Regions from separate parts of the Homo sapiens genome. Here regions 1, 3, 4, 5 and 6 are each linked to region 2. Evidence: promoter capture Hi-C in 16 types of primary human blood cells and fetal thymus (Javierre and others, 2016). All regions are on one chromosome and are shown on one strand. Each heading gives the region's core, a stretch centred on a gene start or on the middle of the fragment in contact. The rest is flanking DNA. Distances are from core to core; before and after follow the strand shown.

The links. Contacts are between HindIII fragments. The CHiCAGO score rates a contact against its expected background, and 5 or more counts as called.
Region 1: a fragment that was not itself captured here is called in contact with the fragment with the promoter of DDX3X in region 2 in 2 of 17 cell types (naive CD4 T cells and monocytes); the score reaches 7.4 in naive CD4 T cells.
Region 3: a contact is called between a fragment that was not itself captured here and the fragment with the promoter of DDX3X in region 2, in 11 of 17 cell types (fetal thymus, erythroblasts, total CD8 T cells and 8 more). The highest score is 10.6, in fetal thymus.
Region 4: a contact is called between a fragment that was not itself captured here and the fragment with the promoter of DDX3X in region 2, in 1 of 17 cell types (naive B cells). The highest score is 5.1, in naive B cells.
Region 5: a contact is called between a fragment that was not itself captured here and the fragment with the promoter of DDX3X in region 2, in 1 of 17 cell types (naive CD4 T cells). The highest score is 5.5, in naive CD4 T cells.
Region 6: a fragment that was not itself captured here is called in contact with the fragment with the promoter of DDX3X in region 2 in 4 of 17 cell types (erythroblasts, total B cells, naive CD8 T cells and 1 more); the score reaches 6.4 in erythroblasts.

Annotation. Positions count from the first base shown.
Region 1 is chrX:40,568,796-40,573,544 of GRCh38, reverse strand. No RefSeq gene overlaps it. Among named protein-coding and RNA genes, the nearest start is that of ATP6AP2, 9.8 kb to the left of the region's middle. RefSeq lists enhancers at 2,336-2,415, 2,426-2,515. The HindIII fragment of the contact is 1,209 bases long and covers 1,595-2,803 here.
Region 2 is chrX:41,331,105-41,335,853 of GRCh38, reverse strand. DDX3X (DEAD-box helicase 3 X-linked) reads right to left here and starts at 1,692. Exons shown (of 17, transcript NM_001356.5): 1 at 1,557-1,692. The coding sequence starts at 1,601. RefSeq lists an enhancer at 2,062-2,291 and a silencer at 2,382-2,871. The HindIII fragment of the contact is 5,677 bases long and covers 1-4,463 here.
Region 3 is chrX:40,728,844-40,733,847 of GRCh38, reverse strand. It overlaps MED14 (mediator complex subunit 14), which reads left to right. Exons shown (of 31, transcript NM_004229.4): 2 at 4,503-4,529. Among named protein-coding and RNA genes, the nearest start is that of MED14, 4.2 kb to the left of the region's middle. RefSeq lists a silencer at 3,428-3,477. The HindIII fragment of the contact is 7,459 bases long and covers 1-5,004 here.
Region 4 is chrX:40,687,482-40,691,846 of GRCh38, reverse strand. MED14 (mediator complex subunit 14) reads left to right here. Exons shown (of 31, transcript NM_004229.4): 16 at 3,317-3,393. Among named protein-coding and RNA genes, the nearest start is that of CXorf38, 42 kb to the right of the region's middle. The HindIII fragment of the contact is 7,880 bases long and covers 1-4,365 here.
Region 5 is chrX:40,585,565-40,590,522 of GRCh38, reverse strand. ATP6AP2 (ATPase H+ transporting accessory protein 2) reads right to left here. Exons shown (of 9, transcript NM_005765.3): 2 at 1,407-1,537. Among named protein-coding and RNA genes, the nearest start is that of ATP6AP2, 7.1 kb to the right of the region's middle. The HindIII fragment of the contact is 916 bases long and covers 1,090-2,005 here.
Region 6 is chrX:40,661,074-40,665,803 of GRCh38, reverse strand. MED14 (mediator complex subunit 14) reads left to right here. Exons shown (of 31, transcript NM_004229.4): 25 at 1,315-1,497; 26 at 2,644-2,879. Among named protein-coding and RNA genes, the nearest start is that of CXorf38, 16 kb to the right of the region's middle. The HindIII fragment of the contact is 1,807 bases long and covers 1,191-2,997 here.

The DNA.
Region 1 (4,749 bases), core at 950-3,449, 760 kb after region 2:
TTTTTGATAGTAGCCATCCTAATGGATGTGATGTCAACCTTCTCTTTTGCATCAGCTGGTTTGATTGGGTGTCTGGGGACTTGTAACCAAAATATTTTTGGCTAAAATGAGCATGTTGTCATCTGGACACTGCTTGCTTATTCTTATTCTTATTCTTATTCTTATTCTTATCCTTATTCTTTTCTCAGGCTCCCTATATACTTCCACTGACAAACCTCACCTTCTGATGAGTACATCCTTTTCTTAAGATCTGTCAGCATTTTTTTTTTTTTTGTGACAGAGGCTCGCTCTGTCACCCAGGCTGGTGTGCAGTGGCATGATCCCGGCTCACTGCAGCCTCCGCCTCCCCAGTAGCTGGGATTACAGGTGTGTGCCACCATGCCCAGCTAATTTTTGTATGTTTTAGTAGAGACAGGGTTTCTGCCATGTTGGCCAGGCTGGTCTGAAACTCTTGGCCTCAAGTGGTCTACCTGCCTTGGCTTCCCAAAGTGCTGGGATTACAGGTGTTAGCCACTGCGCCTGGCTTGATTTTTTTTTTTTTTAAGACAGAGTTTCACTCTTGTTGCCCAGGCTGAAGTGCAATGGTGCGATCTCGGCTCACTACAACCTCCACCTCCCAGGTTCAAGCGATTCTCCTGCCTCAGCTGACGGGCTAATTTTTGTATTTTTAGTAGAGGCGGGGTTTCACCATGTTGATCAGGCTGGTCTTGAACTTCTGACCTCAGGTGATCCACCTGCCTCAGCCTCCCAAAGTGCTGGGATTACAGGTGTGAGCCACCGCGCCTGGCCTGAGATTTTTTTTTAAATTAGAGATGGGGGGTCTCACTTTGTTGCCCAGGCTGGTCTCAAACTCTCGGGCTCTAGCAATCCACCCTCCTTGGCCTCCTAAAGTGCTGGTATTACAGGTGTGAGCCACCGAGCCTGGCCTTACTTGATATATCTTGTTTTCCTGACTAAACCCCGACTGAGGCAGAGGACAAACCTATTTCCAAGTTTTAGTGGGCACTTCATCTCATTGAGACACTGGATACTGACTTCAGTGACTTTGGGATAGTTCTTCCCAACTCCCCTGAAAAAACCTAATCAAATGCAGAGTGTCTTCTGAATCTATGGTAATAGAAGTCAGAATATTAATTATCTCTGAAGGTGAGGGAGGCTGACTTGAAGGGCATAAGGGAACTGTCTGGGGTTCCGGTAATGTTCTGTGTCTTGATCTAGGTGGTGGTTACATGAGGGATATACATAGGTGAAAATGCAATAAGTTGTCCACTTAAGACTCATGCAAGTTAGAGTTCGTAGCTGTGTGAAAGGGAGAAAAAAGATGTAAGCATGTAACCATATCAAATTGTATCTAAAAACTTTCAAAAGTAGGGTATTCTCAGTTTGCACCTAGTGGATGAGTATATTTAAACTCACATGAATAGGAAACATTATTTGTGAATTTGTTCATTCACTATTCATTCATCCCTTTATTTAATATTGTGTGTTTATAATGCACTGTGTGAACACTGGGCCCTGATAACTTCAGAGCTAAATCTTAGGGAAATAAACTGAGAATTTATGTCCCATCTGAAGGGGTAAAGAAGAAAAAGCTTATTTCCACGTGGTTCAGCTCCAAGTTAGCAGTGCCCAATGTGCACAGAGCACATTGTAAGCACACAGCAATGGATGAAGGAATGAATGAATGAATGAGTGAATGAATAAATTAACAAATGATGGTTTCTATTATCCATAAGTATGAAATGGAGGGAATTTTCTGGGAGTAAAAGGATCACAGTAAGTTCAATTTCCAGATGTCAGAGGCATTTGAACCAGAGTGACTCCATCTTGAATGGGGCTGGGTGAAATGAGCCTGAGACCTACTGGGCTGCCTTCCCAGAGGACTAGGCATTCTCAGTTACAGGATGAGATAGGAGGTCCGCACAAGATACGGGTCATAAAGACCTTGCTGATAAAGCATGCGGTAAAGAAGGCTGCCAAAACCAAGATGGCCATGAAAGTGAACTCTGGTCGTCCTCACTGTTCATCACATGTTAATTATAATGCATTAGCATGCTAAAAGACACCCCCACCAGCACCATGACAGTTTACAGATGCCATGGCAATGTCAGGAAGTTACCCTATATGGTCTAAAAGGGGGAGGAACCCTCAGTTCCAGGAATTGCCCACCTCTTTCCCGGAAAACTCATGAATAATCCACCCCTTGTTTAGCATATAATCAAGAAATAACTATAAGTACTATCAGTTGGGCACCCTAAGCTGCTGCTCTGCCTATGGAGTAGCCATTCTTTATTTCTTTACTTTCTTAACAAACTCGCTTTCACTTTATGGACTCGCCCCAAAGTCTTTCTTGCTCGAGATCTAAGAACTCCCTCTTGGGGTCTGGATCTGGACCCCTTTCCGGTAGCACAGATAATTACAAAAGCAAAGACAGGGCAAGATTTCATCTCTGCTACAACTCTTTTTAAGACAGAATCTCTGGAGCTGACAGGAGCTGGTTGAGGTGCTTGATGTCGTGAGCAGGTCCTCTATTTCCTCCCACCAGCTCCGCTTCTGTCTCTTCTGCCTTCCCCGTTCCGCTTTTAACCCATGATTCAAAAAACCACAGCCTGATTCCCTTTCCTCCCAGCATGTGGCTGCCCACCTTCTTTTTCTATAATGGGCTGCTGATTGCTGCTGTGGAAATTCCCCTACCCCTGGGAAGTGGCTGTCATGTGGGCCCTCAAACCTGCCTGACCACCCTTTCTCCTGCCCCACTCACTGCTTCCTCCCTTCCTCCCCATCCCTGCAGCTGTTTAAAGCTTCCAGCAGTCTTCAAGCCCCTCCCTCCTCTAGGGAGATCACACTCCAGCTTCCCCCAGTTATGGAGCATCGTCCTGCTGACCATAGGGGAAAGAGTCTAGACTCGGGAGTGTGAATTGGTCATTAAGGATCCATTACCAGCCTCAGGAAAACAACTGTGCTCCCTCTTCTCTCATCACCTCTGGTAGCTACTTCCCCTTTATGAATGCGATGACTTATTAATGAAAAATCTTCAGTCTCTAGATACCCTTCCTCATCCCCAGCAGGGCCATTCCAGGAAACCTGCACCTAGCGGCCTGCGGGAGCACCTTGCACTGACCCGCTCTTGGGTATTAGGGAGAGCCTACAGAGGAGCATGGAAGCCTGGCTTTGCATTGTCATTGTCCTCACCCATTTCTTCTGCACAGAAGTTGAGTTCTGTTTGCACTAGGTGTGGCACTGGGGATGGGGAGAGAAGGGTGCCTCAGACTGAGACTTCACCCTGGAGGAGCTTACAGCCCCATGTTCCTAACTCTCGTGGTGTTCAGACTTCTCGTGCGGCATTTGCTCTCTCCTTCATCCACAGTTCAGCTTTCCACTTGGTGCCCGGTTCAACTTTCCAGTTAGAATTTGTTTGAATGAGCTTTTTATTTTAGAATAGGTCTCAATTTATAGACAAGCTACAAAGATAGTGCAGAGAATTCTCATATACTCTACATCCAACTTTCCCCTATTGTTACCATGATACATTAGTGTGGTATATTTGTCAGAACCAATATTAATGTATTAATAATAAAGTCCATACTTTATTTATTTATTTTATTGGGATGGAGTCTCGCTCTGTCTCCCAGGCTAGAGTGCAGTGGCCCGATCTTGGCTCACTGCAACCTCCACCTCCTGGGTTCCAGAGATCCTCCCACCTCAGCCTCCTGAGTAGCTGGGATTACAAGTGCCTGTCACCATGCCCAGCTGATTTTTGTATTTTTAGTAGAGGCAGGATCACGTCTCTGTGATCAGGAATTTGGGAGCAGCTTGGCTGGGTGGCATCTGGCTTGGGGTCTCTCAGTGCCACTGCAGTCAGACAGTGGCTGGAGGTGGTGTCATCTTTAAGGTTTCTTCACTCACATGCCTGGCACCTGTGCTGGAAAGACTCAAACATCTGGGGGCTGGAAGTGTTGGGGCATATTGGGCAACTCTCTCTCTATTTCTACATGACCTCTCCACACATGGACATTCTAGGAGGTGGCTTCAGGGTAACCAGATGGATTCCATGGAAACTCTGGATTCCAAAGGCTAAGGTGTGTGTCCCCAAAAGGAGAAAACCAGGTGGAAGCCATAGCACCTTTTATGAACTAGCTTTAGAAAGTCACTGAGCATCACTTCCTCTCTATTCTACTGGTCAAGGCAGATATAAGGGGCTGCCCAGGTTCAAGAGGAGGGAACATGGACCCTCCACCCATCAGTAGAGGCTTGTCAAAGTCAAAGTCACATTGTAAGAAGAGCCTGTGGATTCGGATATTTATTGGTGTGGCCATCTTTGGAAAATACAATCTGCCATACGGGTTTGCATATAGGTAAGGAGACAATGGCTGTCATAGCTAATGGAATACCATTTTACCCAACAATATATTATCAGCATCTCATCACATAATTATTATGCAACATCACTTTATAAAAAGTTTAATTTTTAAAATTTATGTTACCAAAGTAATGCATACTTGTGAAAAAAAACCTCAAAATACAGAAATGCATAAAGTAAAACATGGGCCAGGTGCAGTGGTTCATGCCTGTAATCCCAGAACTTTGGGAGCCCAAGGTGGGCGGCTCTCTTGAGGTCAGGAGTTCAAGAACAGCCTGGCCAACATGGTGAAACCCTGTCTCTACTAAGAATACAAAAATTAGCCAGGCGTGGTGGTAAGCGCTTGTAATCCCACCTACTCAGGAGGCTGAGGCAGGAGAATTGCTTGA
Region 2 (4,749 bases), core at 443-2,942:
AAATGGTAAAACTGGGAATACTCTGTGCTGCTGGTAGGTTGTTAAAGTGTCTGTTCAATTCAACATGTGTCAGCAATTAGAGGATTTAATATAATTGGTTCATTAACGGGTAGAAAATGCTTCCAAAGGAACAGATCAATTCCTAAAAAATATTACATATGACTACATTAAACTATGTATTCAATTAATTTGTGCCACTAAACTTCGTCTCAGGATTATTCCGGAGTTTGTGAAATCAACGCTCCCCTAATCACAGTAGACAGTAGTTTATTTAAAAGCTCCGCATAACCCACACAAGAGCTTATCTGAAGCCTGGTGCCACTGTTGCGGTGGGATGCAGACTTCCTGCCACCAAAGTCCATAACCTTCTCCTCTCAAATCACACATCTTTCTCTCCTCTGCCCCTAAACCCTTAGAAGAGGGGATTCTGGCTAAGAGAAAAAACCCGGGGGCCTGGGACCCATTGCAAGATTCTACTCCACAGATAGCAACAAGTCAACAACAAAACTGTTTACTTCCCCCCTAAGCCGGGTGTTTTTCCAATGGCGGATTCCTGGATCACAGTCACTAACACGAAGACACTACCACAACCCGCGATGACCCCTCCACCCCAGAAAAACAACGCGGGACTCCCGGCTAACATACCACACAGGGACAATCTGGGGCAAGCAAGGAGGAGAAAGGGCCTCGCTGGCTCCCTAACCTCCCCGCCACGTCCAACCTCTATCTCCAGGGCCCAGCGCGCAGCGGCCAATTCCTGCCTCCCCTCCCCGCCCCCACCCCTCCCCCACTCCTCCCCAATCTTCTGCGTCACAAAACTTTCCACTCCGGAAACGCAGCCTCCCCGGCTGCGGCGCAGGGCCCCCGGACCCTGCGGAACCTGGGCTGAAGCGAAAAAGCCAGCGGAAGGAACCCGGGAAAAAACAAGAAACCCATTCCATCCTCCTTTCCAGGCCTTCGCCCGCCCGAGACCCGCCGTCTCCCGGAGGTGAGCCACAGCGCCGCCCAGCACCACACAAAAGAGGCCGCCGCCATTACCCCGAGCGAAGGCCGCCCCCTCCCACATTCCTGGGCCGCGTTCTACCCCTTGCTCGCAGGCACGCAAACACCGGGTGCCGCCAGGTCCTCCGGACGGGAATCCAGGCTGCGCCAGCCGTGAAGGCCGAAGCCCTCCAAGCCAAAAGGGCCTCCAGTCGCGTCCCGCCGCGCTGCGCACTCCCGCAAACCCCCCCAGGTCACTAATCAGTCGGGATTCGCGCATGCGCGTCCCCGCGAGAGCGCGCGCACTTCCTCCCCCTCCGCCCGCCTGCGCACGCACACACAAAAGCCGCCATTGTGCTCGTCCCGGGGACAATACAGCGGGCCGAGACCGGGCCCGGGCGACAGCCCCAACCAACATTCCTATCCCTCTATAGCCCCGGGGCACTCACACCCGCCAGCCCGGGGCACCCAGAAAATGAAAAGTAAGGGTGCCGGTTAGCGCTGCGCCATTAGCCAGGTTAGGTCAGGGGAGGAATTCACGCAGCAGCCAGCCCGGTGGGGTTCTTGCGGCTCACCTGCTGGTCCAGCCCGAGCGCATTTTCCACTGCCACATGACTCATCCCTGAAGAGTACCGAGAACTCGGAGTCTTCCGCTGCTAAGCGAGTGTTTGTTCCACCGCGAAGGCCCTCTCACGGGAGAACTGCGGCTCTGGAGCGCACCGCGCGGCCACGGATCTAATATACCCGCTGGAAAGCCGGCTACGTCAGCACGTACAACGTGTGCCCTCCCTCTCACACCGCAATTCCCTGTCGCGGCGACTTCTGCCCGGCTACTGCGCGCTCCCTCAGGTCTAAGCTCAAGGGATTTCCTACTTAGTCCTGTCGCCCCTAGCAGTCCTGCCTTGGAGCTTAGGGTGCGAAATGCTGTCCCAGTTCTCTCGAGCTACACTTCCCGTGCTCTCCGCTAAAACCCTAGTCTCAGCCTCGGAGTTCTCGAGATCTCGCGAGAACTTGCGTCTCCCGCTTTCCACCGGCTAAGACGCCTGAAAATGTTAACCTAGGCCTCTTCGCCCCCCTTTCCAACCTTACGCATTCGCTCCCCTTTCCAACTCTATGCACTCAGCTTTCGTTTTTCGTTTTTTTTGTTTTTGTTTTTTTTTTCCTAACACTGGCCTTCACTCTTCTTCCTCTCTCAGTTCCCGGGCTTGGAGATGTGGTGGGATTTCTCCGGTCTAATCTGCCCTCGCTCTTCCGCGGGTAGCCTCCCCTTAGTGGGAGCTAGGCAGATTCCCGAAACTGAGAGGGCGGCAGGCCACGTGACCGTAGGTGTCGCGTGCGGTGGCCATTTTGTGAAGCAGGAAACGGTGGCTTGAATATAGAGTGCTCCGGACGGGGGAGGGGAGGGGAAGAGGAGGAGAGAACAGAGGGAAGGGGAGGAGAGGGAGGGAAAAGAGGGGAGCGGAGTAAGGGGAAAGGAGGAGGGAGGAGGGTAGGATGGTGACCGGGGCGGGAGTCGGGGGGAAATGGAGGGGAGCCGGCGGCGCGCGCAGGTGGCCGGACACCTTCCTGCGCGGTTGCCTAGGCAGCGGGGGCGCCGCCTAGAAACACACAATGGCCCCTCCTGGCCAACCCCCCGACGTGTGCGCGCGCGCCTCCGCCCCCGCCCCCCGCGGTGAGGGAACAATGAGACAGACACGCGCTGATCCGGAACCGCCGCTGGCGCGCCCTCCCGGGACCCCGGCTCTCCGCAGGAATGCGGGCTACATTTGCCCCTAGTTTCCTCCCGCGGGGCGCCCAGCGGCTTAGGGCCGGTGACCACCGGCGTTGCGGGGACCCCGCGGGTGGCGAACGGCTCTTCTAGGGCCCAAGGGTGTCGGGAATGTTTGTAGCCGGTGCAACCTGGGCCTGCCGGAGGGGCTGCAGCGGGGTTACCGGCCTGGGCTCGGGGTGACTCTCAGGCCGCTGCGGTGGATGAGGAACAGGAGGAACCGGGTTTCTACCGTCGGTGGAACCTCTTCCTGTGGTTCCCTCCTAGGCAGGCCACCCCAAGTCCCGGCTTCGGTGCCGCAGGCCCTTAAATAGAAGAAGGTGTTTACTAGTGGATTCCCGGCTTTGAGCCGGCGCCCGCACATCCGTAGTTTCTTATGACCGCTTTCCCCTCTCTTCTGACCCTCAGCCCTACGAAATTAAATAAAACGCAGTGGTTTCCACCACCCCCACAAAAGGTCTTCTGCTGCCAGAATTCAAATAGTTCGTGCTCATCACATAATTTACTATACACATAACTTCTCTCCCTTCTCAATTTTTAAAATCGAGACGGAAATTCGAACGAGATAGGGAGAGAATATCACACTGTCGGGGGCAAGTTGTTTAACGGCTTTGGGTCTCAATTTGCTCATCTATAAAAGGAGTCTGCTACATTCCATAACCCTGTGAAAGACCCAACTCCTTTTCATAACGAGTATTTTCTAACGCCCCCTTTACCTATACTGAAATAACAAAACCTAAATTGTTTATGTAAACCTACAAACACAATTTCAAAAAACATGATCTGTCAACAAACGAAAGCAAAATGATTATAATAAAACAATGTATTATAATATGTAAATGCCGCCGCACAGCTACACTAACTGGTGGGAAGACACTTGCCCAGTAGAGCCACAAATGCAAACTGGAAAGGTGTGTTGATTTCACAACTCAAGTTCCATGAGCAGCATTGCTACTAGGAACCTCATTTTCCAAAATGATGAACTATTAATAATTTTTAAATAAAACAGTACAATCTTCCTTCAATTGAAACAGTACCTGCATTTGTGGAAAATTCAGGATATATGGAAACTGGGCAAAGATACTTTGTGTTCATATGTAAAACAGTGTTAGTTCTAGGCTTAGATGATAATGAACTAGTTTTTCACCGACATGTGTCCAGTGATTCAATTATTCGCTCTGTGGGACTGACCAGCATCATAGAACATCCTAGCGTGCCTGGCTCCTGCCCACTAAATGCCAGTAGCTCTCGCCAGTCATTGTGACAACCAGAAATACACAGATTTCTACAATGCCCCTTGGAGAGCCACTAGGTTTAATGATATTAGGGTCCCTTCCTGCCCTGAGATTCGTGGATTCTCATGGAGTTTTGGTGAAGGACCTCGGTTTTGTTTCAGTTTCGTTTTCCTATGAACCAGGGTAAACATGAGTCAGGTTCGAAAACTGTGAGTTCCGACAGCTCTTCAAACTGCATATAGCAACAATGGGATGCACTGACTACCCTGGTTCTGGGCTTTGTTTTACTTTTGAGTAGAGCCGAGTACAGGGTACCGCCATGGGAGTACCTAAAAGAATTGAAATATACAGCAGTTCCCTATTTTCAATTAACCCCTGCTCATAGGCATACTTGGTTCAAACCACCAGGGTATTTTGTTAATCAATACGTTATAATTGGAATATCCAATTGGAGAGGAAGCGGGAAAACATACAAAGCTTTGTCTTTAAACACATTCACTTTGAAAAAGAATGATGTGCACACTTGAGGCAGCTAAATAAATGAGCCAACTTTCACAGCACTCCGAATGACTTTTCCGTTTAGCAACATTTGCATATTTTCTCCACATGGCAGTTATTTGCAAATTTTATTTGAAGTGACCTAAAAAAGGGTTAGAAATGGCTGAAACCAGGCCGGCCGCGGTGGCTCACGCCTGCAATCCCAGCACTTTGGGAGGCCGAGGCGGGCGGATCACGAGGTCAGGAGACTGAGACCATCCTGGCTAA
Region 3 (5,004 bases), core at 1,294-3,793, 600 kb after region 2:
TATCCAGATGCCTACATTTCAGTATCTTGATGGGCATTTCAACATAGCAACTCCAGCACCAAACTCCTGATTCCACTGTCCTCCCTCCTGCAGAACCTTCTTTGCTATCTCACTAGTCTCTCCATTCTTCCTGTTGTTGCTCAGGCCAAATATTTTGGAATAACTCCTGGCTCCTCTCTCTTCACATCCTACATACATCAGCAAGTCCTGTTATCTTTGACTTCAGAGTCTGACCATTTCTCAACACTTCCACCAAGTGCTGGTCCAAGCCACCTAATCCTTCACCTGTGTACTGCAATAGTCAGTTCACTGGTATCTCTGTAGTTCCCTTGCCCCTTCTATAGTTTCTTCTCCACAAAATAGCCAGGATGATTCTTTTAAAATTTCTCTGCTTAGAACCCTTCGATGGTTCCCCATCTCACTGAGATTAAAAAGTGTTGATAATTGCCAGGTGTGGTGGCTTATACCTGTAATCCCAGCACTTTGGGAGGCTGAGGCAGGGGAGGGGGTCACTTGAGCCCAGGAGTTCGAGACTCTGTCTCTACCAAAAATAGAAAATTAGCTGGGTGTGGTGGCCCAAGCCTGTAGTTCCAGCTACTTGGAAGGTGGAGGTGGGAGGATTGCTTGGGCCCAGGAGGTTCGCTTGAGCCCAGGAGGTTGAGGCTGCAGTGAGCATGTTCGCACCACTGCACTCCAGACTGGGTGACAGTGAGATCCTATCTCAAAAAAAAAAAAAAAAATATTGATAATCATCTGTATAGTGACCATAAAATTTATAGTCCAAACCGGGACACTTTTGAGCATAATGGGGCTGATGATAATAATGTCAGAACAAGAGGCATAAACCAGGACTGTCTTGGGCAAACCAGAAAACCAGAACATGTGGTCATCTTACCTTTAAGGCCTTACATGATGTGCCTTCTCTGTTCCTTAACCTTTTTTTTTTCTCCAACCTCTTAACCACTTTTGGTTTGTCCCTTACCTCTTTAACTGCATGTCCTGAAACTCTCCTCTTTGCTTATCCTGTTCCGACCACATTACCCTTCCTGATGTTTCTTTTTTATTTTTGAGACAGGGTCTCACTCTGTTGCCCAGGCTGGAGTGCAGTGTGGCACAGTCATGCTCACTGCAGCCTCTCGACATGGGCTCAACTGCTCCTCCTGCCTCAGCCTCCCAAATAGCTGGAACTACAGGCATGCGCCACCACGCCCAGCTAATTTTTTTATTTTTGGTAGAGACAAGAGTCTCACTATGTTGCCCAGGCTGATCTTGAACTCCTGGGCTTAAGCAGTCCTCCCACCTCTGCCTCCCAAACCTTTTTTTTTTTTTGAGACAGAGTCTCACGGTGTTGCCCAGGCTGGAGTGCAGTGGTGTGATCTCGGCTTGCTGCAGCCTCCGCCTCCCGGGTTCAAGTGATTCTTGTGCCTCAGCCTCCCGAGTAGCTGCGATTACAGGCATGCACCACCACACCTGGTTAATTTTTGTATTTTTAGTAGAAATGGGATTTCACCATGCTGACCAGGCTGGTCTCAAACTCCCAACTTCAGGTGATCTACCCGCCTTGGCCTTCCAAAATGCTGGGATTACAGGCGTGAGCCGCTGTGCCCAGCCTCCAAACCTTCTTGATGTTTCTTGTTAGTGCCTAGCACACTGCCATCTTAGAGCCTTTGCTTTTTCCCTAGAAATCTGTGTGAATTGCTTTCTCATTAGTCCTTTAGGTCCTTGTTTACATACAATTTATCAGAAAGATTTTCTCTGACCACCTATAAAATAGTACTCTGCCCCTTCACTCTGTCCTTCTTACTTGCTGCTTTATTTTTCTTTACAGCACTTATTGCCACCTGACATTATTAGTTTGTTGTCCATTCCCACCCCATGAGGACAGAGATTTTGATTTGTTTGTGACTTTCCCTGGTGCCTAGAACAATGCCTGGCACACAGGGCTTAACTAAGTATTTATTGATTTAATACATGAATGAATGAATGTTTAGAATTGTCATAAATCAATATATGGTTTGATAGAAGAAATAATAACTAGTGTTTGATAACTCAGTAGGGTGACTAGTTTGCAAGAATCTACTGTACATTTCAAAATAGCTAGATGAGAATAATTCAGATGTTTCCAGCATAAAGAAAAAACAAATATTTAAGATGATGGATATCACAAGTACACTGATTTGATCTTTACAAATTATATAAATGTATGAAATTATATGTACTGTGAAACTGTACATGCTTAATGCATCAATAAAAATATTGTTCAAAAAGAATTGTAAACCATGGGAAATTTAATAGGAAAAGTTATTTTTGTTCTTGATACACAGGTATACAACTTTTTTCACTTTTGATTGTGGTAATTATTAATTAATTAGTTTGGGAACTTACCATGGAAGTTCCTAAATAGTGTATTTTCCCTAAAAACTGTCAGGATTAATATGTTAATGTAGAGCCAGTGTTCGAGGTATACTTTATGAGTCTTTAGGGAAACAGTTACTTCAGTAATATGTGATGCTTGTGTGTGAACTATTGAAGGTAAAAAGGACAACCTTGGCAACTTAGGTGGTTTTGTTTTGGTCTCAGATTTCTGGGTTTTTTCCTTCTGCTTGTCCACCTCCCTTCCCCCTCAACATACATGCTCTCATCCTAGAGTTTACTCTCTGCCTTGACTTTTTAGAGACCTAGGTTCTACTCTTTATTTTTTTTTTTTGAGACAGGGTCTTGCTCTGTCACCCAGGCTGGAATGCAGTGGCACAATCATGGCTCACTGCAGCCTTGACTTCCAGGGCTCAGGTGATTCTCCCACTTCAGCCTTCCAAGTAGCTGGACTACTTGCCACCACACTTGGCTAATATGTATTATTTGTAGAGATGGGGTTGCCATGTGTGCCCAGGCTGGTCCCAAACTCCCGGACTCAAGCGATCTGCACCCCACCCCCCCGCCACCAAGCCTCCCAAAGTGCTGGGATTACAGGTGTGAGCCACCGTACCTGACCCCCCCGCCCCCTTTTTTTTAAACTTCTTTTAATTCAGAAAATGCCAGGATCTCAGTCATGTAATCTTGTCTTATTGTGCTTTGGTGTAAATAAGTTTCTATGCCTTACTTCCCAACATTTGCATTTTAGAACTTTTACTCTAAATGGTAGCTTTCTTATCCATAAAAGAATTTCAAATAGATTAGGAGGAATAGGGGAAAGGGGAGGCAGGCAGCAAAGCCTGTCTTTTGTCCCTGAACTGATACTACCGCTGACATGAGATGGTTCTTTTAGGGTCTCTGAGGCAGGTAGGAGGAGTGGGAACAATGATTCCTGTTCTTTCTACCCCCAGAAACTCTGCTCCCCTTCTCCCCTTATAGATACCCATCGTTCTCATTCTCCCCCTCCCTTGAGGTGAAAACAAGGGCTGTGGCTTCTCAAGGAGTGTTCTCAAGAGGTTTGGCTTGTAGAGGAACTTGCCAGTAGCTGCCTTTATTTGCAGTCTTCTAACAGGGCCTTAATTTCTGCTTCATCTCTCCGGTCTGCTGGCCCTTCCAGCCCCCACCTAGTTCCCTTTATCATTCTGACCATAACTTTAACTTCCATCTCACCGTCTACCCTAAGAGTAGGAGGTAACTATAAGCCAGAGATCATTTTAATATTTTCTCCTCCTTGTACTTTGAACCTCTGGAAGTAGTTTTAGTTTTTCTGTTCCTGTGGCACGTGGGTGGGAGACAATCTAAATGGCTGGGTGTGTGTACTTCAAGAACTGATTAGCTGTGGGAGAGGCATGAGAGTTGTTTAGGCCATTGAATCTTGGACTGTGGGATAGAGGTTAACAGAATGTGGCAATTCAGGAGGCATTAAGGATCTTTCTAGGCATCAGTGGATGTGAATGTTAAATGGTATAGCTTATCTGGGAAGAAGTTGACATTGGTTGCTGGCTATCAGTATTGGAGGACTAGCAAAAAGAAACTTAAAAATCCTGTTGGAGCTGTTTAAAAGCAATAAAAATTTTTCATCTAACCACCATGCAGCATAATTACTGTAAAACCCTTGACATACACTGGTCCTTTTGTATGCTTAGCTTCCAGTTTTGTCCACCATAACACAATGTGGAGGGATTATTGCTTGGAAACAGGTATCCATTGGATACAGGGAGGCTGGCAACCAAGTAGTAAGTTCTTCTGCATCTGTGACCATTTTGGTCTTAAAATAATCTTTTCTCTGACACCCTATGATATAGTGTGCTAATGTGGGACTTGGGCTTTTTAAATGTTTAAGGTTCATGCAATACATTTTGAAGTATTTTGAATGGAGAAAAATGTTCTTTTGTTGGTTTTTGCCTTATAACCATACTGCTGGAAACTCATAAATCTAAAAAAGAGTAGGTAGCTACATGAGCCTGTAGTAGCTGTTTACCCAGTTTTTCTGAAACATTAACGTATTTAATAGAGTCAAAGTAAAGACTATTATCACATTAGAATGAAGGTATGCATGTATCTAATCCGTTTTTTTTTTTTCTTCTTAGACTGCCAAGGAAATCTGATGTGGAAAGGTGAGTATGGAAAAAAAAAACCCTTAAAGTCTCTTTATTGATCAATCTATGAGTGTTGGTGTGTGGGTATGGGTGGTGTAGGGCTGTGGATTGGAAACCTAGGCCCAAAGAGTCTAGAATGATTTTTCACACCATGTATTTAGGGAGTCCTGGGAAATGTAATTTCCTCACCCTTAACAATACTTGTTGTGAGACCAGTTCTAAATCTTCTGTTCTACAAACCTTTATTGAGTGACTGACCTGGTCAAGTCCCTAAGGGTGATATTAAGATAAAGAAGGTATAGTCTGTAAAGGAAGATGCTGAGGAGCAGCAGACTGGCTTTAGAAAGTTGACTGCCACGGGCATAGTGGCGGGCGCCTGTAGTCCCAGCTACTCAGGAGGCTGAGGCAGAATAATTGTTTGAACCCAGGAGGTGGAAGTTGCAGTGAGCCGAGGTCACGCCACTGCACTCTAGCCTGGGCCACAGAGCAAAAC
Region 4 (4,365 bases), core at 717-3,216, 640 kb after region 2:
TGAGGTCAGGAGTTTGAGTCCAGCCTGGCCAACATGGTAAAACTTTGTCTCTACTAAAAATACAAAAATTATCCGGGTGTGGTGGCACACGCCTGTAATCCCAGCTACTTGGGAGGCTGAAGCAGGAGAACTACTTGAACCCAGGAGGTATAGGTTGCAGTGAGTCAAGATTGCACCACTGCACTCCAGCCTGGGCAACAAAGCAAGACTCTGTCTCCAAAAAAAAAAAAAAAAAAAAAGATTAAAAGAAAAAGTGGACAGGCTGAGTGCAGTGACTGATGCCTGTAATCCCAGCACTTTGGGAGGCCAAGGTGGAAGGATTGCTTGAGCTTAGGAGTTCAAGACCAGCCTGGGCAACATAGCAAGACCTTGTCTCTTTTAAAAAAATTAAAGAAAAGCAAGTGGACAGTTTTTAAGAATTAACATTTTACTTTTATACCTCTTAGTAGGAGCATTGTTTAAGCCTATTAGAGATGGTTAGTTGATAGCCAGGTGGCTTATTTTTGAGTTGGTAAAGCCATGTATATTGATTAAGCCCTAGTAAAACCGGGATCCTTTCTAAGAAGCAGATCAGAAAGAATATTAAACTAAATTTTTACTTTTCTCACATGGGAGAAGCAATAGATTTATGCAGAATTAGTGCCTTGAAAGAATACGCAGTTGTGATATCCAATATAATCCTCAAACGTGAAAGGGAGGTAACAGACCTGCACTTTTTGTATTTCCAAAAAGGAGTTTGGCCAAGGATGGGTAGCCCCTCAAAAGTGATACACTAAAACCCCAGTTATTTCCCTGTAGGTTAAAGTTTTATGTTTTGTAAGAATCCCCTCCTCTGTAAGTTATTGTGAATGAAGGAGAGACCTGGAAATGTGAAAATGGACTTTTTCAGTTGGGCTGATGATGATGGCCTTGGGAAGATTTGTTGAAAATAGCTTTCATGCTTTAGAACAGGGATTGGGAAACTTTTTCTGTAAAGAGCCAAATATAAATATTTTAGACTTTGTCGGTCAAGTGGTCTCTGTTATAGCTACTCAAATCTGCTGTTGTAGTGTGAACCAGCCAGAGCTGATATTTAAACAAATGAGCATGGCTGTGTTACGGTAAAAAACTTCATTTACAAAAACAGGCAGTGGGCCGGGCACGGTGACTCATGCCTGTAGTCCCAGCACTTTGGGAGGCCGAGGTGGGCAGATCACCTGAGGTCAGGAATTTGAGACCAACCTGGCCAACATGGTGAAACCCCGTCTCTACTAAAAATACAAAACTTAGTCAGGCATGGTAGCGGGCGCCTGTAATCCCAGCTACTCGGGAGGCTGAGGCAGGAGAATTGCTTGAACCTGGGAGGCGGAGGTTGCAGTGAGCCAAGATCAAGCCACTCCAGCCTGGGTGACAGAGCGAGACTCCTTCTCAAAACAAACAAACAAAAAAACCAGGCAGTGGGCTGGATTTGGCTCATGAGCTGTTGTTTGCCAACTCCTGCTTTACAGGAATTTGGGATCTGTAGGCAGAGGATAAGGTGTGAAATTGTAAAGAGCCCAGAGAGAAACCCAAGCCTAGAAACAGGCACCTAAAATAAATACTCATGTCCTTGATGACCCAGCTCCTAGAACTGTGAGCCTGATGAATGTCCTCTTATCTGGATACTGGCCTTAGCTCCTAAACTGTGGAGTGTGTCCATGTTTCCTATGTAATTGACTGTGTTCTTGGACTCTTTTATTGTGTTATTTGGATTGATTATATGAATATCATTCAGTTACTACCTTTGCAGTGGGAAGGGAAGATGGATATGTGGTGCTGAGGCAAAGCAATGCATTTATATCCTCTCTTCCCCTACCCACAGGCCAGAATTGGCAAAAATGTGTGTCTTTGTAGGCCTACGTAGGTTAATGACTGTAGACATACGTCCTCTCTGTCCACCTTCTCTGTATTCCTATACCTGCTGCACATATGGGACACAGATGAACATTCTGTAGTTCTCTATTGAACTCAGTCAAGCTCTTAAAAACTTACCTACTTTTTATTCTCAGTGAACATTCTAGCTATGTTAAAGATAAAAGCAAGTATATTTTCTGCTTAAAGTAATTTAGGCTGAGATGTGAATAACTAAAACTAAATCTCATCTTATAAGGGATGTTTATATATCTTTTTTTTTTTTGAAATGGAGTTTCACTCTTGTCACCCAGGCTGGAGTGCAATGGCGCAATCTTGGCTTACTGCAACCTCCACCTCCCTGATTCAAGCGATTCTCCTGCCTCAGCCTCCCAAGTAGCTGAGATTACAGGCATACACCACCACACCCAGCTAATTTTTGTATTAGTAGAGACGGGGTTTTACCATGTTGGCTAGGCTCGTCTTGAACTCCTGACCTCAGGTGATCCAACTGCCTCGGCCTCCCAAAGTGCTGGGATTACAGGTGTGAGCCACCGCATCTGGCCGGATGTTTATATATCTGATTGATAGAATAGCAGCAACATTTTTGAGCTGGCCCACACTTCATTTCCTTTTGAATCTGAACCCCTACTTCCTATTTGGTAGCAGCTATTTTTCTAAACCTTTCCCTTTCCCAGGCCCAAAGAGCAGGGCTCACTCAAATACCTGGAACTTCCTTAAATCCTTTCCAGAACATGGTAGATATAAATAGTCTGTCATGCAAGACCTGGGAATATCTGCCAAAGGCAAGCATTTCTTTAGATCAGATGACTTTCTGGCATACTGTAATTACTTGCAGTCCCATGGAAAGGGTTTCAGGCACTATCTCTGCATTTATCTTTTTAATTTGCTTTCTGAATCCTTTAATTGGGAAAGAGATGTCATTGGGTAAATGCACAAATTGGAAATCTTTTCTTGGGTTTCACATAGGAAGTAGTTTAATTCTTAAAAATGTATTTCAGAAATGTTGTAAACTAAAAAATATCATTTAGAAATAAGCTATGACAGTGACTCAAACATTGTTTTGAACAAACAGAAGAGAATTACACGAGAAACCATTCTTGTGGCCTCTTGAACTACTAAAATTGATTCTAGATTACTTTTGGCTCCCTGCAAAAATTAGACTAATCTCCTAAATTTTGAATATTTGCCACTTGTGGAGGTGTTTCTTAAACTAGATGCACTGGGACAGCTTTGAGTTCCACTGGACTTCATGTCGTTTCCCAGGGAATCTAATGATGGGGATAATACTCATGCCTAATATGTTGTAACTTGGGGAAAGGATGGTCCTAGAACAGGTGCCACAAGAATAGAGACCGTAGTACTTAGAAATGGTAGTTGTTTTTGTAAAATTGGTCGTCTGATATAATTGTTTTTCTCTTTCTAGTTGTCCAATCTGGAGATTCCACATCAAGGAGTGCAAGTGGAAGGTGATGGCTTCAGCCATGCAATTCGCTTATTAAAGTAAGCCCCTGTCATATGTTTCACTTGGTGCCACATGTTGCAGTCACACTCTGAAAGCTGCTTCTCTTTCATGAGACAACATAAAGCAGTGTTCAGAACCTGTGGGTGTTGTGGATTTCTGCATAGAGTTACTAGGGTCTGGGGGAAGATTCCTTTAATCTATGGAGTGGCAATCCAGCATCACTTGGTTTTGTTTTTTTTGTTGTTTGTTTGTTTGCTTGTTTTGAGACAGAGTCTCATTCTGTTGCTCAGGTTGACTGGAGTGCAGTGGCATGATCTTGGCTCACTGCAGCCTCCCAACCTCTGCCTCCTAGGTTCAAGCAATTCTCGTGCCTCAACCTCCCGAGTAGCTGGGACTACAGGCACACACCACGACGCCCAGCTAGTTTTTGTGTATTTTTAATAGAGACGGGGTTTCACCATGTTGACCAGGCTGGTCTCGAACTCCTGGCCTCAAGTGATCCACCCACCTCGGCCTCCCAAAGTGTTGGGATTACAGGCATAAGCCACTGCACCTGGCCTCACTTGGTATTTTTGGATGTCTTTTCTCTGCATTTCTTTGATTCGTTCAGCAGATATGCATTGAGTGTGACTGTGTGTCAGGCTTGAATTCTGACATCCCCTCAGAATGCTGTGGGTTCATAAAGCAGAGGAATATGGGCTAGTTCAGAAGTCAGGAAGGGTATCCCTGAGGAAGTACCAGTTATACTTGGACTGAAGGAGAGGTGAGAATTAGTCAGAGGAAAGTGGGGCAGAGGCAGTGGGAGGTCCTAACCAGAGGGATAACTGCTAATGTGAAGGCTTGGAGGGAAGAGAGAGCTTGGCATTTTTGTGCTGAAAGGAGTTCGGCATGGCAGGAGATGGGAGAAATGAGGCTGGAAATGTACGCAGGAAGGGGTCACATCCTTTAGGCCTATGTAAATGTCCTTCAACAATTTAGGCTTTATCCTAATGGCACTAAGAAGCTATCAG
Region 5 (4,958 bases), core at 298-2,797, 750 kb after region 2:
CCTGTGGTCCCAGCTACCGGGGAGGCTGAGGTGGGAGAATCTCTTGAACCTGGGAGGTGGAGGTTGCAGTAAGCCGAGATCAGGCCACTGCACTCTAGCTTGGGTGATAGAGCGGGACCCTGTAGCAAAAAACAAAACAAAACAAAACAAAAAAAGAATTAGGTACAGGCTGGGTGTGGTGGCTCGTGCCTGTAATCCCAGCACTTTGGGAGGCTGACGCAGAAAGGATTGCTTGAGGCCAGGAGTTAAAGACCTACCAGCCTGGACAACATAGCGAGACCCTGTCTCTACAAAAAATTAAAAAATCAGCTAGGCGTGATGGCATGCATCTGTAGTCCTAGCTACTCAGAAGGCTGAGGCAGGAGGCTGAGGCAGGAAGATCACTTGGGCCCTGGAGTTTGAGGCTGCAGTGAGTCATGCAGACTCAAACTCAGCTTGGGTGACACAGCCAGACCCTGTCTCTAAAAAAATAACTAGGTACAAATTTCATCCTTAAATGTAAACAACCAATCCTGTTCACTTTGGTTGCCCAAAGACTACAAAAAGCTCAGGGGCTCTGCCCTTAGGCCTGGCAGTGAAGCAGTTCCCAGGTAGAGTTTCTGTTTTCAAGGGTGCTCAGGATTTGGAGAAAAGTTCCTTTCAGTGACTGATGATATATATCTAGAGACCACATCAAAAGCACCAGACTTACAAAGAGAAGGAGATGATAGCACCGAGCAAGCTGTATTTCCTTTCTTCTGAGCCCTTACCTTTCGATCTCTCACATTGACTGGATCTAGACCCTCCCGCCCCCTACAATCACATAAGCAGCCAATTACTACAACAGGTCATAGCTCCATTCTAGGAAACCAAGGTCCTTGGCTGCCCCATGGCTACTGACCACATTATTTTCCTAACCTCAGGCATAATGCATATATATTTTATCATTCATAGTGAATCTATCGCCTATACTAAAAAAAAAAAACCAGAAAGTAGATATCCTATTAAGAGTAGGACAGATGCATTCTCTAATATACAAAGAATTTCACTACTATGAATAAATAATTATATAGTTAATGATTTCTAATGATTTGTTTCAGAAGCCAAGCTTGAAGCACTCATCCAAAATCTTCCCAACTACAAATGGGTTTTTAAAAAATTAATTCATTTATTTTTGAGATGGGAGTCTCACTATGTTGCCCAGGTTGGTCTCAAATTCCTGGGTTCAACTGAGCCTCCCACCTCGGCCTCCCAGAGTGCCGGGATTACAGGCGTGAGCCACTGTGCCTGGTCCAGATGAGCTTTTTAACTTTTGTAATCTGTACCAAACGTACCTACGTTCGTTTGATGCTTTTTTGGGCTATTAGCAGAAATCAGTAAAAATGTTCTTAAAAGCAGCTCCAAACATTTAAAAAATATATACATACTTCTTTCACAGAGAAGCCCATGGACAATGCAGCCACGTCTGGGATCCGCTCTCCTGGTATAGGCCAATTTCCATTTCGGAAAACAACAGACCCTGGTGATTTTAATATACTAAACTCGTTCCCCAAAACACCTGAAAAGAAAACAGATCAGTAAATGAATTATCAACATCATAAATCATTTACCTTGACAATTATTAAATATAATACATGTTTCCCCATTCACCACTGACTTAGCGTATTAAATTATGACTGGTCAAAATGCTGAGTCCTAAACAATAACAAATTCTTTTTCAAAGTATCACTCTAAGAATTTAAGTCCACACATTCTGCTGGAACAAAAGTACAACTATCAGAGCCTCTCTGAACCTATTCTGGTTCAGGGTCTGCCTGATAAGAACAAGAAACAAACAAAAGTCTCAAAAAGAGATCAACAAAGGTACAACTACAAAACAGGGTTTCCTAATGATATAGACACCTTCCTACTGATGGCTCTTAAAGAGGCATGTGGCAATTTGGCAGGAATTAGAAATCAGTGGCATATCTCCAAAATTTAAAAAACAAAAAACAAAGCCCAGGCACAGACTAAAAAGGAAGAAGCTTGAAATCTCTAAATTATTTCTACCATCAATCCTTTCTACACAATGCAAATTCATAAAGTTCCTATTATTTCACTATAAGATTTTACCAGGTTACTATGTCTTAGGATAGGTAACATCTTTCCTTATGTCCCATAGGCAACCCTAGTGAAATAAGGACTGTCAAATGTTGGGGGGGGGGGGGGGCATACATGTCACAAGTAGAAACATAAAAACACTTCAGACTTTAGAAACAAAGTCCAGGAAACAGTATTTGTAGTTGACATGTCAAGAGGGTAAGAAAAGGTATTCTGTAATGATAAAGTCAACTAGTCTAAGGATTCAGGATTAAAAGATAAAGATGAGAATAAAGGGACTATTTTATAAGCTCTCCACAGCTAAGGATGAGGTATTTGGCCTCTTCATCCATTATCTATTAACCTCGTGATGTCTAGCTTACACAGGGACAAGTAGCTAATTTCAGTTACTGAAAGGAACTTTTCTCCAAATCCTGAGCACCCTTGAAAACAGAAACTCTGCCTGGGAACTGCTTCACTGCCAGGCCTAAGGGCAGAGCCCCTGAGCTTTTTGTAGTCTTTGGGCAACCAAAGTGAACACGATTGGTTGTTTACATTTAAGGATGAAATTTGTACCTAGTTATTTTTTTAGAGACAGGGTCTGGCTATGTCACCCAAGCTGAGTTTGAGTCTGCATGACTCACTGCAGCCTCAAACTCCAGGGCCCAAGTGATCTTCCTGCCTCAGCCTCCTGCCTCAGCCTTCTGAGTAGCTAGGACTACAGATGCATGCCATCATGCCTGGCTGATTTTTTAATTTGGGGTTCCTATTAAAAAAATGGGCTCCAAGTCTAGAACAAATGTTAGCCACACCTAGTATGGGAAAATTAGACTTTAGTAAAGAATCAGTGTTATTCTCTTGACCTAAGGAAAGTACCACTAACAGGGGATGGAAATAAAGTTGGAAGCAACAGTAAATGTTTTGGTGTTGCAGTATTGACAGTAAATAAAAGGCTTCAGGTTGGTGCTGATACACGGGAGTTACAAATTTCAATCCGGCACAGCTGTCAGAACAGGAATGTCCAAACTGCTCTAGCTGAAGACAGACCAAAAAAATTAGCAGAATGGAATGGTCTTTTGTAACTGATAGATATCTTGGTTCACTAAAGTAGTAGTACTGCAAACACTAAGAAAAATGGGGAACCAAGAGACCTATGCTTCCCAAGAACCATACACATATTTTGTTTGTTTGTTTTGAGACAGAGTCTCACACTGTCGCCTAGGCTGGAGTGCAGTGGCACAATATTGGCTCACTGCAACCTCTGCCTGCCAGGTTCAAGCAATTCTCCTGCCTCAGCCTCCCAAGTAGCTGGGATTACAGGTGTGTGCCACCATGCCTGGCTAAATTTTGTATTTTCAGTAGAGACAGGGTGACACCATGTTAGCCAAGCTGGTCTCAAACTCCTGACCTCAAGTGATCGGCCCGCCTCAGCCTCCCTATGTGCTGGGATTACAGGCGTGAGCCACCGCGCCCAGCCCCAGGTACCATACACATTTAAAAAACCATATTTTGATTTGGAGATACCCTTGTTTTGAGACACGGCCCTACTCATTCAATTCTGGCAAACCTATACCAAATAACTTTGCCCCAGCTTCGTAGTTTCAACTTCCATGCCTGTACAACAGTCCTTCAGAAGCCCAGAGCTTTAGAAAACCTTAGAGTCAGGGACTCCTATACAGAGGAAGGTCATTTGTCCAAACTTCTGCTTATTATAAGTATAAGCATGTCTCAGGGATACCTGGCAGAAAGTCACCCCTCCTCTATTTCAATACTACCAGTGATGGGGACACCACCTCAATATACGAACTACATTTGCCAGCAACTGGCTCCATTTTCCTAACATTCTAGTCCTTTGAAAAGTTTTTCCTTGTACTGAACTGAAATGGGCTTCCTAACTTTCAACTTCCTATGCTATCACTCCCCAACTCAGTCTCACCAGATAACCTCATCTCCAGCTTCACAGAGAAAACAGAGGAATTTCTTGAGCTACCTGCTTCCTCTCCCCACCACAAATTTATCTGCATAAGCCCCTATCTGTAACTCCTCTCCCTCCAGACATGAGGGCAGGGATGTCCCTCCTCCAGACTAAGACAATCCTGTGTTCAGTCTTTTTAGGGACCTTTGTTCCTTCACTGTTTGTTAAGGAAGCCACTCTTCTAGGACAGACAACACATCAGGAGTGAGGTGGCTATATGGTAATAGCCATCAAAAGATGGCCCTATAGAATACAAGCTCCATGAAGGCGGGGATTTCAGTGCGTCTTGTTCACACACTATCCCCAGGGCTGAGAACAGAGCCCGACACATTGGTGCTCAATAAGTACTTGTTGAGTTAATGAATGAATGAAGTCACACTTCAAACCACCAGTTTTTTCCCTCTCCACTGGCCCTTTCACTTCAGCATAAAAATACGCTCAAGGCACTCCCATTCTATAACTAAAACCATAAAAAACCTCCTTTGGTCCTACCAGTCTCCACCAGCTACCAGCCTTGCTCCCCTTCAGAGGAAGAATCCAGGAAGAGCAGTCAACCACCGTTTGCTTCTATACTTCATTTTAAGTTTACTACTTAACCCACAAAATTTTAAAAATTTTTTTTATTTTTATTTTTTGAGACAGGGTCTTGCTGTCACCCAGGTTGGAGTGCAGTGGTAAGGATCTCAGCTCACCGCAACCTCCACCTCCCAGGTTCAAGAGATTCTCCTGCCTCAGACTCCTGAGTGGCTGGGACTACAGGCACGCACCACCACGTCTGGCTAACTTGTGTATTTTTTTGGTAGAGACAGGGTTTCACTACGTTGGCCAGACTGGTCTCGAACTCCTGACCTCAAACAATCCGCCTGCCTCGGCCTCCCAAAGTGCTGGGATTACAGGCGTGAGCCACCCCACCTGGCCGCCCACA
Region 6 (4,730 bases), core at 845-3,344, 670 kb after region 2:
GTGGAATTGTTGTATCAAGGGATTTGACAAATTCTAAAGCTTTCGAAACATATAACTGCTCATCTGAAAGGCTGTACCATTTCCCATGCCATCATACAAGAATGTCTGTTATCCTGCATCATCGCCAGGGAGTATTACATATTTTAAAGACCTTGGACATTTTCATAGGTGAAAAATGGTATCTTACTGTTTAATGTATTTCTTTATTAGTGAAGAAAATTGAACCTTTTTTGGTTGGTCTTTGGTTTTTTTGTTTTGTTTTGTTTTTTTTGAGACAGAGTCTCACTCTGTTACCCAGGCTGGAGTGCAGTGGTGCAGTCTCAGTGCACTGCAACCTCGGCTTCTCAAGTTCAAGTGATCCTCCTGCCTCAACCTCCTCCCCAGCAAAGTAGCTGGGACTACAGATGTGCACAACCACGCCTGGCTAGTTTTTGTATTTTTTTGTAGAGATGGGGTTTTGCCGTGTTGCCCAGGCTGGTCTCGAACTCCTGGACTCAAGCAATCCACCCACCTCAGCCTTCCAAAGTGCTGGGATTACAAGTGTGAGCCACCGTGCCTAGCCGGTCTTTGGTGTTTCTTATTTTATACCTCCCAGTTATATATGCTTTGCCTATGTTCTTGTGTTTTTTCTTGCCCATTTGTAAGACCTAAGTAAAGACCATTTACTCTCTGACATATACATGGTAAAAGTATTTTTTCAGTTTGTCATTTGGTTACAGAGGGATATAAATAATATGTTGAAGGTATCTGGAGGATGAAATTTATTTATTTTTTATTTTTGAATATCTTCGTAGATACCAATGGAGGGTGAAATTTAAATATCAAATTGTTCAGGAAGTCACTGCTTTCAAAACTTGAGTCTTGGTTCATTTCTTAGTCAACGTAGTCTAAATAAAGAATATGGAAAATTTCCTTCTCCTCATTCTACTTAGAGTAGAATGAAAATATGGTTTGTCAAAGTTGGTTTAAAAATATAATATTTCTGCCTTTAAAGGAACTCTGAGATTGTTTGCTTAATATTTTAATGCATATAGTAGCATACATTGTTACATATTACATACATTGAAGCTTGTGTGAAGGTAAATTTTATCCTCTCTCAAGCTTTATATTTTTCTAATTTTTGTATCATGTTAAAAAGTACCTTACACAAAATAGAGATTCAGGCATGACATGTTAACACACATCAAGCTTCAGTGAAACATCTTATTGGAAGAAAAAATAAAATTATTACTGTGTAAAGATTTGAATGCTGTCAAATAATTTTCAGTTATTAAAATATAGGTTTTGAGAATCATTTGTTTACCTTTTTTATAGGAACTCTTGACCCTAGTTCCCCATACACTATGGTGTCACCAAGTGGACGAGCAGGGAACTGGCCAGGATCTCCTCAAGTGTCTGGCCCCTCACCAGCAGCACGCATGCCTGGAATGTCACCAGCCAACCCCTCACTACATTCTCCGGTTCCAGATGCTTCTCATTCCCCTCGAGCTGGAACAAGTAAGTATCATCAACATTTTTATGTTCTTTTTTAGTATAACCCAAAGTGACCTATCTTGTTGCATCCTCACATTTGAAAGTCATGACCTACTTTTTGAGAGAGGATACTTAAAGGATATTACAAAGGATGCAGATGAAGAGATGCATAAGGGGAGTGCAGTTTCCATGCCCTCTGTGAGCCTTCACATGTTTGCCTATCTGGAAGTTCTCCAAACTCTGTCCTTTTGGGTTTTTATGGAAGTTTCATCACGTAGGCATTATTGATTAAATCACTGGCCACTGGTGATCAACTTTGGGGGTGGGGCTGAAACTACCAACCCTCTAATTGTGCCGTGTCTTTCCTGTGATCAGCCCCCTTCCTGAAGCTACCTAGGGGCTGCCAGCCATCAGCCATCTCATTAGCATACAAAAGGACACTTAACCACTTTGAAGAGTCCAAAAATTTTAGGATTTGTATGCCAGGAGCTAGGACAAAGACCAAATATATATTTCACAATATCACACATAATAACAGAGAAGAGAATTGTACACATTTATTGGTTAGCTTTTGCTACATTTAGTGGCTTAAAACAATATATGATTGTTATATATTGGTTCACAATTCTGCAGGTTGGCAGTTTAGACTAAGCACAGCTGAGTGATTCTTTCAGACTCTGCTGGGCAGCTCACTCATGTGTCTGTAGTCAGCTGCTGGGTTGGTTTGGGACTAGATGGCCTCAGATGGCAAGGTTTCTCTCTGCTTTGTGTGGTTTCACACTTGATCTGAGGTTTGTTCACATGGTGGCTCAACAGGATTTTAAGGCAGGGAGTAGAAGCTGAGGCCTACAACTAGCCCAGTGTCACTTCCACCACATTCTGTTGGTCAGAAGCAAATACTAGGCCAGCCAGGTTTCAGGTGGAGAAATAGAGTCCACCCCTTAAAGGAGTTGCTGCAAAGTCACATTGCAAGGGGCCTGGATATAAGAAGGAGAAAAATAGTGGCCATTTTTGCTAACAGGTTGTTAATATATGATTGTTACACCACAAGGAGTAACTAAAACAGTACAGAATGATTTAGAACATCAAAGATTTATGATGAAAGCAAAACAGGAAGCAATGAGATAGTATGTATTTGTAAATGACATAACATGTTTTCCTTCCCAAAAGGTTCTCAAACAATGCCAACAAACATGCCTCCACCTCGTAAACTACCTCAGCGCTCTTGGGCGGCATCCATACCTACCATCCTCACTCACAGTGCCTTGAACATTTTACTGCTGCCCTCTCCAACTCCAGGCCTTGTGCCCGGCCTGGCAGGTAGTTACCTTTGTTCTCCACTTGAGAGATTCCTTGGATCAGTCATCATGAGACGACATCTTCAAAGAATTATTCAACAAGAAACGGTATGGGTACCTAATGACCTTCTAAGTGGTGATTGTTAAGGGTAAAATGCTAAATTGTCCTGCAGGATAGGATCTGAACTAACGTGACATTCCTTCACCTTCCCTCCTTTAACAAGCTTGTTAGAATTATGATTTTCACCCTAACCTGGCATTAAAAATGGACTCCATTATTTTCTTTTCCATTCTTATGTTAACATATTTCTGCATTATACAGTTTGCTGTGCTGTGGCTTCTATGTTATATGGCTAACATGGACCTGGAGATAGATTTCTGCAGCACACAGGAGCACTGCGCACAGGATCTGGCCTTGCAGAGAATAGCATACCAGTAATTATTTGCCTTCTGGAGTGCCCGTGCGGGGAGGCTGATTTTGACTCTGAGTCTTTATTGAAATAAAATAATTGGCTGGGTGTGGTGGCTTATACCTGTAATCCCAGCACTTTGGAAGGCTGAGGCAGGAGGATCACTGAGCCCAAGAGTTCCAGACCACCCTAGGCAATATAGCAAGACCCTCTCTCTACAAAAAATTTAAAAAATTAGCAGGCATGCACCTGTAGTCCTAGCTACTTGGGAGGTTGAGGCAGGAGGATTGCTTGAGACCAGGAGTTCCAGGTTACAGTGAGCTGTGATCATGCTGCTGCACTCTGTCCTGGGTGATCGAGTGAGACCCTGTCTCTAAAAAAATAAAAAGAGAAAAAAAATTTGAAGAAAATTATTTATGGTTACAAGGACAAAAGCTTCTTTTTAAATATGTGAACAGGACGGGCACGGTGGCTCACGCCTATAATCCCAGCACTTTGAGAGGCTGAGGTGGGCAGATCTCTTGAGGTCAGGAGTTCAAGACCAGCCTGGGCAACATGATGAAACCCCGTCGTCTACTAAAAAATACAAAAATTAGCCAGGCATGGTGGTGCGCACCTATAATCCCAGCTATATGGGAGGTTGAGGCAGGAGAATTGCTTGAACCTGGGAGGCAGAGGTTGCAGTGAGCCAAGATCGCGCCACTGCACTCCAGCCTGGGCAACAGAGTGAGACTGTGTTTCATAAATAAATAAATAAATGAACAATTGAATTTTTAAAAACTCTCGTAGAAAAAAGACTTCTAAAAAAAAAAGAAGAAAAGAGACTTCTAACTTATCCTATGCTGATAGCCTTAGGAGATAATTTATAATTGAGAGCACCAGTTCTACAGTCAGGCTGCCTGGGTTTGTAGCCAGCCATACTACCTGCTAATGTGTGCTTAGGCAAATTTCTTCAGATAATAGTATTTACCTAACTGATAACAGTTGTGTGAATTTGAGATAGTTCATGTAAAGCCCTTAATATACTGTCTAGGCATTTTCATTATTTATAATTACTGTTATTATTGGTAGATGCATGTGCTAATGAGGTAGTCAAAATGGTGAATGTTTAGGCCGGGCACAGTGGCTCATGCCTGTAATCCCAGCACTTTGGGAGACTGAGGCGGGCGGATCACTTGAGGTCAGGAGTTTGAGACCAGCCTGGCCAACATGGCGACACCCTATCTCTACTGAAAATACAAGGCCAGGCGTGGTGGCTCATGCCTGTAATCCCAGTACTTTGGGAGGCTGAGGCAGGCGGATCACTTGAGCCCAGGAGTTCGAGACCAGCCTGGCCAACATGGTGAAACCCCATCTCTACTGGAAACACAAAAATTAGCTGGGTGTGATGGTGCACGCCTGTAATCCCAGCTACTTAGGTGGCTGAAGCATGAGAATCATTTGAACCCGGGAGGCAGAGGTTGCAGTGAGCCGAGATCGTGCCACTGCACTCCAGCCTGAGCAGACAGAGCGAGACTCTCAAAACAAACAAAAAACAAAAATTATCTGG